Linked DNA regions of Homo sapiens: region 1 is linked to region 2. Evidence: promoter capture Hi-C in 16 types of primary human blood cells and fetal thymus (Javierre and others, 2016). All regions are on one chromosome and are shown on one strand. Each heading gives the region's core, a stretch centred on a gene start or on the middle of the fragment in contact. The rest is flanking DNA. Distances are from core to core; before and after follow the strand shown. Region 1 has its middle 5.1 kb from the start of RPL38. Region 2 holds the start of COG1 (component of oligomeric golgi complex 1).

The links. Contacts are between HindIII fragments. The CHiCAGO score rates a contact against its expected background, and 5 or more counts as called.
Region 1: a contact is called between a fragment that was not itself captured here and the fragment with the promoter of COG1 in region 2, in 2 of 17 cell types (activated CD4 T cells and naive CD4 T cells). The highest score is 5.7, in activated CD4 T cells.

The regions. Positions count from the first base shown.
Region 1 is chr17:74,195,832-74,201,323 of GRCh38, forward strand. No RefSeq gene overlaps it. Among named protein-coding and RNA genes, the nearest start is that of RPL38, 5.1 kb to the right of the region's middle. RefSeq lists enhancers at 598-1,098, 1,099-1,599 and a silencer at 4,079-4,128. The HindIII fragment of the contact is 1,277 bases long and covers 2,772-4,048 here.
Region 2 is chr17:73,189,618-73,195,123 of GRCh38, forward strand. COG1 (component of oligomeric golgi complex 1) reads left to right here and starts at 3,438. Exons shown (of 14, transcript NM_018714.3): 1 at 3,438-3,767. The coding sequence starts at 3,453. RefSeq lists enhancers at 2,665-3,424, 2,710-2,759, 3,390-3,669 and a silencer at 3,720-3,929. The HindIII fragment of the contact is 5,644 bases long and covers 2,151-5,506 here.

The sequences.
Region 1 (5,492 bases), core at 2,160-4,659, 1.0 Mb after region 2:
TCTCTGGTTTCCTTCTCTGTTGGGCCCCCATGGACAGATGAGCCCAGGGTGAGGGTGGCACAAAGTTATCTCGGGGGGACAGGGACAGCCCTTCTGCCCCTCGAACATTTCCCTCCCAAGCCTCTGCACCAGCTCTCCCACACCCCAAGCCAGGCTGGCCAGCCCTAGGCAGGACACAGAGGGGACCCACGACCACTCAGGCCTCCTCACAAGGGCCGCTGGCCCACAGCTGGAAGGAGGGAGCAAAGTAGGAGGTCAGGCGCGTTGGCTCATGCCTGTGATCCCAGCACTTTGAGAGGCTGAGGTGGGCAGATCACCTGAGGTCAGGAGTTCCACACCAGCCTGGCCAACATGGCAAAACCCCGTCTCTATTAAACATACAAAATTATCTGGGCGTGGTGGTGTATGCCTGTAATCCCAGCTAATTAGGAGGCTGTGGCAGGAGAATCGCTTGAACCCGGGAGGCAGAGGTTGCAGTGAGCCGAGATCATGCCATTGCACTCCAGCCTGGGCAATGAGACTGAAACTCCGGCTAAAAAAAAAAGAAAAGAAAAAAGAAATAAGGGAACAAAGCAGCACCTGGGGGCTCCACTGAAAAATGAGAGGGGCAGAAGGCAGGAACCTCTGGCAGAGGGAAGAGCAGGTGCCCAGCGGGCAGGACGGGCTCACAGACAGGGTGAGCAGGAGGAGCAGACACACAGGCAGCAGCGGGGGACAGAGGAGAGGCAGGCAGGGCTGACTGAGTGTAGGCTGCGGGGCTCTCCATGGGGTCCACTCTTGCAGCCCAGGGAGCGGGTCAGGGACGCGGCTTCAGCCGTCAGATGCCAGAGATTCCCAGGAGCAGTTACCAGGGAGCAAATCGCTGTGCTCCCGTGGAGATGCTGCAACCCACCCGCCTGCGCCCACCCAAAGGACACTCCACCCACACGACCCGGGTTATGAGATCACCTCCATTTCACCCTGTGCCCCCATGCCACGCCCCAGCCCAGCCCACACCCACGCCCTCCATCCCGGCACTAACACCAGCAAGGCCAGAGGTCTGCCCCGCCCTCCTCTCCCTCCTGCAGGGGGTCGGAGCCTGGGGGAGAGAAGCCCGCCCACGGGGTCACCAGCCTTCCCCTGGGGGACTCTGCCTAGCAGAAGGACCCACAACCCGTCCAGCACTACTGCTAAGACGCTCGTGTCATTCACGCCCGGGACGCTCGTGATTTATGGACTTTAATTTCCCCAGATCCTCAGTGGCTTCCCTCCTTTCCCTCTGGCCTGTCAGGGTGTTTGTCTCCCAGCACCCCCAGCACCCCCCTCCCTGGTTTTTAATTTGAAGCATCTGTCTGGAGCATCCCGAGGAGGAGACGCCTGCGAGGCTGAATGCATGAAGCAGCTGACAGCTCTATTGATTTCCTCTCTCCCACCGCATAATGCAAGATATATACAAGCCGATAGGCCAGCCCTCTTTGAAGGGTCTGTGCCCTTTTTTCTCACTCTGATGTCCCCTCACCCTGGCACATGTTGATCTATAGGAGGGGTGCTTGTCCCTCATGCTGAAAATGCATTCTCCTCTGCCTCAGTGTTATTTTTCTCACTGTTGGTGGATGAGGCCTCATCTGTCCTTTCTGTGCTTGCAGATTGGACACCCAGGAAGCAGTTCTTGGAGTGAAAGGGGCCAGTAGGGAAAAGCAGGGGAGCTGGGGAGGTGTCATCTGTCAAAACTGACTCTGCCCCCCATGGAGGAGATGGTGCGGGGCTTTCGGAGTGGCCCTCCCCAGCCTCACAGGTCTGGGCAAGGAGGGCTGCTTTCCACTCCAGCCCACGCCTCCACCAGGTTGCAGGTTTTTTCCTCCAAATCCATTGGCAACTCTTGCCTGGGAATCACATTCAATTAACAGCCACAGAGCCGGCTGCTGGGCTAAGCATTTTTCTATTCTTGGTGCCTTCTGGTTTCTCATAAGCAGGGCAGCTGCAGACAGTTGTGCAGGCTGCACACAACTGGCCGCAGTGGCCTGGATCCTAGCAGGAATTAATACTCAACAGAAACTGAGGCTCAGAGCTCTCAGGAGACTCATTCAAATTCTCCCAGCCAGACACTGAATTTGAATCTAAGACTTCCTGCCTCCAGGAAGAGTTTTCCTCCCACCCTATCATACTGCCTCCTCCAGGAAGACCACCTAGATTGATACCACTCAATCTGATGCTTCTTTCATTCTTGTCACCCTGGAACTTATTTGCTATGAGGGTTTGCACATACTAGCAGGCTCCTCTGGAGGTGTTGGGTTTTCAGGACAAAGCAATATTCTACTCCTCTTTGTGAATCACCATCGATGTTACTCCTGGAGGACTTTCCTGGCCTGTATCACCCCTTCCCCAGCCTGTATCAGACCCCCATGGCCTCCATCTGGTCCCACAATTCCAAACACTTCCTACACCTAGGGCCCAACCTCATCACTGCCTCCCTTACTATTCTGTGTGTCCCTTGAGATGGGAACAGGGACAGGATCTTATTTGTGCATCTTCACCACTTAGGTACCTAGAGGCACCTTAAAGACGTGCCCCATGCCTCTCCTCCCTTCTCCCACCCCAGCTCCCCACCCCATCCCGAGGCTTCCCACTGGAAAAGGTGTCCCCACCCGCTCTGGGCTGACATCAGCTGCCTTGCCTCCCAGAGTAGGGACGAGGCTCCTGGTAACTAGAGCCGACTGCACCCCGCCTTGCCACCCGTTGAGCCCGGGCAGAGGCAGCACCCAGGGCTGTCCTCCTTACAGCATCCACAGAAAAGCTTTGAAACCCTAGGCTAGGTGCAAATAAGACAGTAGCCTGAGCCCATGAGTTACCTGGCCATAGGCACAGAACAGAGATATCCATTATGAAAAAGAATGTCCTCGTGGTTTTGGCCTTCTAGTCAAGCGGCTCTCAACCACAAGTGGCATTGCCCTGCTTTCCCCCGGGGACATTTGGCAATGTCTAGAGACATTTTCGTTTCTCACAATTGTGAGGGTCTAGCATTAACCAAGTAGGGGCCTGGGATCCTCACAAGGCTCAGAAGAGCCTCAGCCCCTAAACAAAAAGTGAAAGTGACCCCATCCACAAAGGTCAACCATGTGGGGCGTGAGAACCCCTGTTCCAGTCTGCCTGGCCTTTCTTCGTGGCTTCTAGCTCAGCAGCAGGGAGAATGTTAAACCTGTCTACCTCTCAGGGGCTCACAGACTCTTTGGGGGCCAGGGGGAGAGTGAGTAACCAGTATCCCTTTAAACTCACCATCTTCAGTTTCTAAAAAAACACCAGTGGGCCGGGTACAGTGGCGCAAGCCTGTAATCCCAGTACTTTGGGAGGCCAAGGCAGGAGGATCGTTTGAGGCCAGGAGTTAGAGTCCAGCCTGGGCAACACAGGGGACCCCATTTCTAAAAAAAAGAGGAAAGAAAGAAAGAGAGAGAGAGAGAAAGAAAGAAAGAAAGAAGGAAAGAAAGGAAGAAAGGAAGAAAGAAAGAATATAAGACCACATGCTTGTGGTCCCAGCTACTTGGGAGGCTGAGGCAGGAGGACCACTTGAGCCCGAGAGGTCGAGGCTGCAGCGAGCAGCGATTGCACCTCTGCACTCCAGCCTAGGCAAGAGAGCAAGGCTCTGTCTCAAAAAAATAAATAAATAAAGCACCAACTCACCCCGCCACCCGACTCCCCATCCTTTCCCAGGTAAATGAGTTCAGTGCCAGGGACCAGAGTCCCGGCCTGCTGACAACCTTTAAGGTTTAATAAACAACTCCCTTCCGAGATGGTTTAAAGGCCAGCCCTGCCGGCAGCCAAAGGCAGGGGCCTCTTGGAGATTAAATGAGATGGTGGATATGAAAGCACTCCACCAGGTATGAAATCGCATACAAATATTCCCGATAATTTATGGACATTTCTCTCCGCCTGAGCTCCCAGGAGTCGCGCGGAAGGGGCTATTCCGTTTCCAGCCGCGGCCTCAGCGCCCCCGTGCGGCCGCCAGTGGACACAGCACCCAGGGCGGGCCTTGCCTGAGAGGTGCGGGTTGGAGCTTTGCGAATCACCCCATAGAAGCTTCGCTGCAACCCTGCGAGGCGGGAGAGAGGCGACAGCACACACACTCCCACCCCCAAAACATACACACACGTGCACGCACACACACACAGAAACCAGGAAACTAAGGCTCGGAAGATCACCGCTGGGCAGTGAAGGAGGTGCTATGGACCCCAGGGATGGGCCCTTGGGTGACGATGACCACAGCGGGCATAAGTGAGGCTGGAAGGGGAACTCCTGAAGGCCCTGAACTCCAGCCCAACTCCCCCTCCAGCCTCTTCTCCCCGACCCCCTGCCCCAGACCCTCCTTACCTCTGCCACACTGAACTTCCCACTCATTCTCAGAAACACCCCGCATTCTCCTGACCCTGGGCTGACGTCAGCTCCCTCCCTCCTTCTGTCTGGAAGTCCTTCTCCGGGCAAGCTGCTGCGCACCCCTCTCGGAGGCAGCAGACTGTGTCCCCTCCTCCACGAAGCCTTCCAGGACTCCCTCAGGAGGAATTAGACCCCTAGCCTCTGGGCATCCTCCACAGCTTATTATGGGATCCCAACAGTCATGAGTGTTTGGAGCAGGAACCGCATTCTGCTTATTCCCAAGCCCAGCCCGATGTTCACCAAGTGAACGGAATGGATTGAATGGGGGAAAATCCTGGAGGTTGGGAAGTCTTCCCAGCCATGTGCCGTGCCAGCCCTCTGCCCACCTGCGAGCTGGGGCATTGGGGTTTTTTTGACCCATCCTGGTCCTCTTTCCAATGTGTCCCTGAAAACTGAAGAGAGAACTCTAAACCATTTGGCCTTCAGAGGTGGCCAGAGTGGGGCTGCTGGAGGGAGGAGGGGAGGCCCGGTGACTTCTGAGGCCCTCTCTGCCCAGAGCCAGCAGAGTGAGGGAAGGGAAGGAAGGAAAAGGGTTGGATTGTGTCCTGTAGCTCCGGACATGCCCTCTGAGCCTCTCCTGCCTCCAGCCATGCTGCAACACACTGCTTGAGACCCTCCCTACCGCCTCTTGACAACAGCAATAGCCCTCACCATCCCACAGCTGCCAGCACTGGACATTCCAGCCTACCAATGGCCAGAGCGACCATAACAGGCAGCCTGGGCCATCCTGCCCTCGAGTCCGGGGCTTTCCTCTCCTGCAGGATCCACCCTAGGCCCTGGAGAGTTTTGTTTCATGTGTATATGGGAGTCATCAGGGAGGCTCATGTCCAGGTCAGCATCTGCTCAAGGTCTCAGGCTGTGGCACTCAGGGCCTAGGCTCTGCCCCCCTTGGTCTCTGACAGTCCCCGGCCACTCCAGGACATTTGGGGCTCATCTTCCCATGGAGCAGGGAAGCGTGCCCTCTGGGCACCTTGCCTCACTTTTAGTAGCTGCAGCTTATTTTGCTATTTGTCCCCCTTGGGGAGCTGGAGGTCTTTGGTACTTGAACAAATTTGCCATTGTGTTTTGCTACTACACGTCTATGGTCC
Region 2 (5,506 bases), core at 2,188-4,687:
GGAAAGGAGCCATGGAGAGGAAAGAGTTAAAGACACATTTCCTCCAGGGCCAGGAGCTTTTCCAGTGACCAGGCAGTCAGGTGACAGCTTCTGTCAGTGCTCAGTTCTGCAGGCAGAGGAACAACAGTGGCATCTTCAGGCCAGTCAGATGAACTTGGCCAGGGAAATACAGAGGAAAGGCAGGGAACACCCTGATTTCAAACCACACTCTGGACTAGGTGAGGTGGCTCACACCTGTAACCCGAGCACTTTGGGAGGCTGAGGTGGGAGGATCCCTCTAGCCCAAGAGTTTGAGACCAGCCTGGGCAACAGAGTGAGGCCCTGTCTTTACACAAAAATTAAAAAATTAGCCGGGCATGGTGGTGCACACCTGTTAATCCCAGCTACTAGGGAGGCAGAGGTGGGAGGATTGCTTGAGCCCAAGAGGTGGAGGCTTCAGTGAGCCGTGATTGCACCCCTGCACTCCAGCCTGGGCAACAGTGAGACCCTGTCTCAGAACACACACAAACACACACAGACACACACACACACTGCAGTGTTGACAGCTGGCCAGTTTGTCTTTTCTCTACCTGACTCAGAACACACACACACACACACACACACACACACACACACACTGCAGTGTTGACAGCTGGCCAGTTTGTCTTTTCTCTACCTGAGCTTACAGGTATTGTGCACAAGCGCAAGGACCATCCCATACAAAGCCCTGGGCCCCCCACTATCCCTGATATGTTGACATTTCTCCCCTTGCTGTAAGAAAGGCTTCAACCAAACTCTCATGGAGCTGGAACCTTAGTGCAGTGTATATCAGTTAGGGCTAGGGCAAACCAGGGAAACCGATTTTGATTTTCAAAGAAACAAAATTGATCAGTAAGACACTGCACAGTTCATAGAATCTCTGGGAAAGATGGGGAGGCAGGTTCAGGGGACAGGCAGGAAGGAAGGAAGGGAAACAGAACATTTAAAACCTAGACGAGCACACCACATGGTGATTCTGTCGAGGACGTCATTGTGGGTGCCCACGGCTGCCACCAGCACCACCGCCAGCATTAGCAGCTGGGAGCTGGAGCTAAGTTCACTGCCCTTGCTGTCCTTAGGGAGTGGATGTTGCCGGTGATACCTGTGCCACCACCAAAATGCAATCGCCCCTGTCACCTGCGATTTTTTTTTTTTTTTTTTTTTGAGACAGGGTCTTGTTCTGTTGTCTAGGCTGGAATGCAGTGGCCCAATCATGGCTCACTGACGCAGTCTCGACCTCCAGAGGCTCAAGTGATCCTCTTGCCTCACTTGCCTCTTGTCAAGTGGCTGGGACTACAGGTCCACAGGCCCACACCACTACTCCCGGCTAATTTTCTTTTTCTTTTTTTTTTTGAGACGGAGCCTCACTCTGTCGCTCAGGCTGGAGTGCAGTGTCTCGATCTCGGCTCACTGCAACCTCCGTCTCCCAGGTTCAAGTGATTCTCCTGCCTCAGCTTCCTGTCTGCTGCCTCAGCCTCCCGAGTAGCTGGGATTATAGATGTGCGCCACCACGCCCAGCTAATTTTTGTATTTTTAGTAGAGACAGGGTATCACCATGTTGGCCAGGCTGGTCTCGAACTCCTGACCTCATGTGATCCGCCTGCCTCGGCCTCCCAAAGTGCTGGGATTACAGGCATGAGCCACCCGGCGCGCGCCCCTTTTTTTGTATTTTTTTGTAAGGACGGGGTTTGGCCGTGTTGCCCAGGCTGGTCTTGAACTCCTGGGCTCAAGGGATCCACACGCCTTGGGCTCCCAAAGTGCTGGGATTACAGCCTGCTTCTTAATGTCACTAACTCTTCACCCAAGTCCTAGGCGCTTGTGCCTGCTGTGCCAGTCCCAGGCCGCAGGCTGGCACCGTAGCTATAAAGGGCGCCAGAAAAAAAGATTTTGCTAGATAGCGATGAATTCCCCAATCACAGAAAGGAGATACTGCGGATGCTTATCAGCCGAATACCAGTAAGTGTCCCTTGCAGAATGGGATTAGAGACTGCAAACTGCAGGCCTGCCAACAGAGGGTGCTCTGTGGGAAATTATGTGAAAACGTAGAAAAGAGCGCGAGCCAGTAATTTAAAAATCGACGTCCAAATACTCACTGGGTCACCTATCAGCTATGTAATTTGGGCAGGTAAATAAGCTTTTGTTTCTTTTTTTTTTTTCCTCATAAATGGACTAGGAATATTACTCCTACCTACCTGGCATGGCCGATGTGCGAGAAAATGAGATAATCTCGTGGACAGGCTCTGAAAACTGCACTTTTACTGAGTAAAAAACCCTTTGCCTCTCCGGGCCCCCGTTTCCCCATCTGTAAAATGAGTCTGTAAAGTGAGAATGATACTCCCTACGCCGCAAGGCTCTTGCGGGTTAAACTGGAATATTATAAATGCACCATTTATTTGCAGATTGAAATTCTGTGCGTCCGGAGGTGGCGGGTGGGAGAGGGAATGAGCAGGGATGCAGGGTAGGCCCTGAGTTGCTGGGGGCTCAGCATGGCCGCTGCGCACATTGCATCATTTTGTCGACACTGGTGTGGGTGAAATCTTCCAAAAGAAATTAAAACAGAAAAAAAAAAAAAGAAGGGTCTGGGACTTAGCAGAAACAAGCCACAATCTCCAGATTCTACTATTCCTGGGCCACGTGAGGAGCGCCCACCCGTCTGGCGCTGCGTTCCCCGGGGCGTCCCAGCCTCTCCCGCCCAGCCCGCCGCCCTCCTCCCCCATGGCCACCAAGGTCAGGCTCTCGCAGGGAAAACGTCTTCAGGGGCTAAACATCGGTTTTAAACGAAATGGAAAACCTCCAACACGAATCAACAGCAGAGGAAAAGCAGACGCCAAACAAGCGCTCAGAACCCCTTCAGGGGCGGCGTGGTAGCTCTTCCCGGGGAACAGCGAGGGGCGCGGATGTCCCTCTTCCTAAAACTGCACGCGGGGTGCGATCCGAGACCCAGCGGCGGCGAGCGCGCCCGAGTCTGCTCGCGGGCGCCAGGCGCGCGGAGAGCGGCGGCTGCGCCTGCGCCAACGCCGTCAGTCCGCGGGGCCCGATCCCGACACCTAACTCCACAGAGAAGCTCTGCTCCTAAGGGAAAGGGAAGACTTCAGCCACAGTTTCGCAGCCAACCTGGCGACCTCACCTCTCTGGCGACCTCACTTCCCAGCCGGCTCCGTTTAAGAAAACCCCGCGCAGGACCGCGCCCGCCCCCGCGCCCGCGCCCGCCCCCGCCCCCTCGCGCCCGCCCCCTCGCGCCCGCCCCCTCGCGCCCGCCCCCTCGCGCCCGCCCCCTCGCGCCCGCCCCCTCGCGCCCGCCCCCTCGCGCCCGCCCCCTCGGGTAACAAACATGGCCCCCGGCGGGGCGGAAGCGCTTCCGCCCCCAACGAAGATGGCGGAGGGGGCGGGACTAAAAGGGCGTAGGTAGATCGCCGGGGGCTGACGAGTGCACCATGGCCACCGCGGCAACCTCACCCGCGCTGAAGCGGCTGGATCTGCGCGACCCTGCGGCTCTTTTCGAGACGCATGGAGCGGAGGAGATCCGCGGGCTGGAGCGCCAGGTTCGGGCCGAGATCGAGCACAAGAAGGAGGAGCTGCGGCAGATGGTGGGCGAACGGTACCGCGACCTGATCGAGGCGGCCGACACCATCGGCCAGATGCGCCGCTGCGCCGTGGGGCTAGTGGACGCCGTGAAGGCCACCGACCAGTACTGCGCCCGCCTCCGCCAGGCCGGCTCGGCCGCGCCCCGGCCACCGCGGGCCCAGCAGGTCAGTCCCCGTGCCCCCACCCTGCGACCCGCAGGCGGGTCCCGGAGCCCCTGGCCTTGCAGGTCAACCCCGCCCCCCTCTGTCAGTCCCAGACCCCGCGAGTCCTCACCTTCCTTAGCCAGGAGCCTATCCGCCCCTCACCCTTTGGGCCCCCCTCAGAGGACAGTGCCAGCCTTCCTTGCACATATGCGGCTGCTGATCCGTTCTGGAAATGCCATTCAACAGTTTCTTCAGGCGCTTTCCCCCGACTTCCGGGCCTTGATTCCTACACCTCACTGGGCTCCTTTCAATTTTAGCGGAAAACGCCAGGAGTTTCTGTCTTGACAGTTCAACGCTCACCTATATAACATGTCCTGACATTGTTTTTCCTCAGGTTTCTCCCCTATGTTGACACCTGCACTCCAAGTCATTTCTTCCTCATCCCAACCTTCCCCTTATCTCCCCAAGAATAACTTCCACAACCCCAAATAGCTGTTCTACCCTTTGGGAGTTGTTGAGGGTACCAGCTATCAAGCCCTTAACTTTATGTATGTATGTGACAGGGTCTCCCAAAGTGCTGGGATTACAGTCATGAGCCACCACAGCCGGCCAAGCCCTTACCTTTTAATAGCTGAACATTTTCATTTTCAGAACTAAGGCTTTTTTCATTCAGGTTCTCCTTATCCCGTGTTCTTCCCCCCAAACGCTATTGATTAGACACAATGAGGAAGGATGGGAGGTAAACAAACACATCCTCATATTGGAGCTGCAGCTTGCGTTCCTAAAGAATTTTTATTGGCCGGGTGCGGTGGCTCACGCCTGTAATCCCAGCACTTTGGGAGGCCGAGGCGGGTGGATCACGAGGTCAGGAGATCCAGACCATCCTGGCTAACACGGTGAAACCCCGTCTCTACTAAAAATACACAAAATTAGCCAGGCGTGGTGGCCGGCGCCTGTAGTCCCAGCTACCTGGGAGGCTGAGGCAGGAGAATGGCATGAACCCGGGAGGCGGAGCTTGCAGTGAGCCGAGATCGCGCCACTGCACTCCAGCCTGGGCCACAGAGCGAGACTCTGTCTCAAAAAAAAAAAAAAAAAGAATTTTTATTTCTTTATTTTTTGAGACAGGATCTCGCTCTGTCACCCAGGCTGGAGTGCAGTGGCGCGATCTCGGCTCACTGCAACCTCCGCCTCCCGGGTTCAAGCGATTCTCCTGCCTCAGCCACCCGCGTAGCTGGGATTACAGGCACCTGCCACCATGTCCGACTAATTTTTGTACTTTCAGTAGAGACGGGGTTTCACCATATTGGCCCGGCTGGTCTCCAACCCCTGACCTCATGTGATCTGCCTGCCTTGGCCTCCCAAAGTGATGGGATTACAGGCGCGAGAGCCACCGCGCACGGCCCCTTAAAGAATATAGACCTAGCAATGAACGAAGTGAAAGGGCATGAAGGGTGAAAAAGGTAAACAGTTAGTTGTTTTTAACAGCCTGGGAGAACTTACTGGGACATAGAAGAAAAAATTGAAAAGTACAGTCTAACTCCAATTTGGAACTTGTTCATGCTATCTGAGCTTTACAGAAATCCTGGTCAGTAGACTGGACTGACACAATAAAACTATAGGAAGTTGCAAATAAGTTTGCATATTTTTGAAATGAGTGACCTCATCCCTCCCAAAGCTAACATTTAGTACACGTGTCCCCTTAGGTGGCCAGCCTTTGCTGTAACTGAGTCATGCTTCAGGGTTTATTAAAACGCTAACTT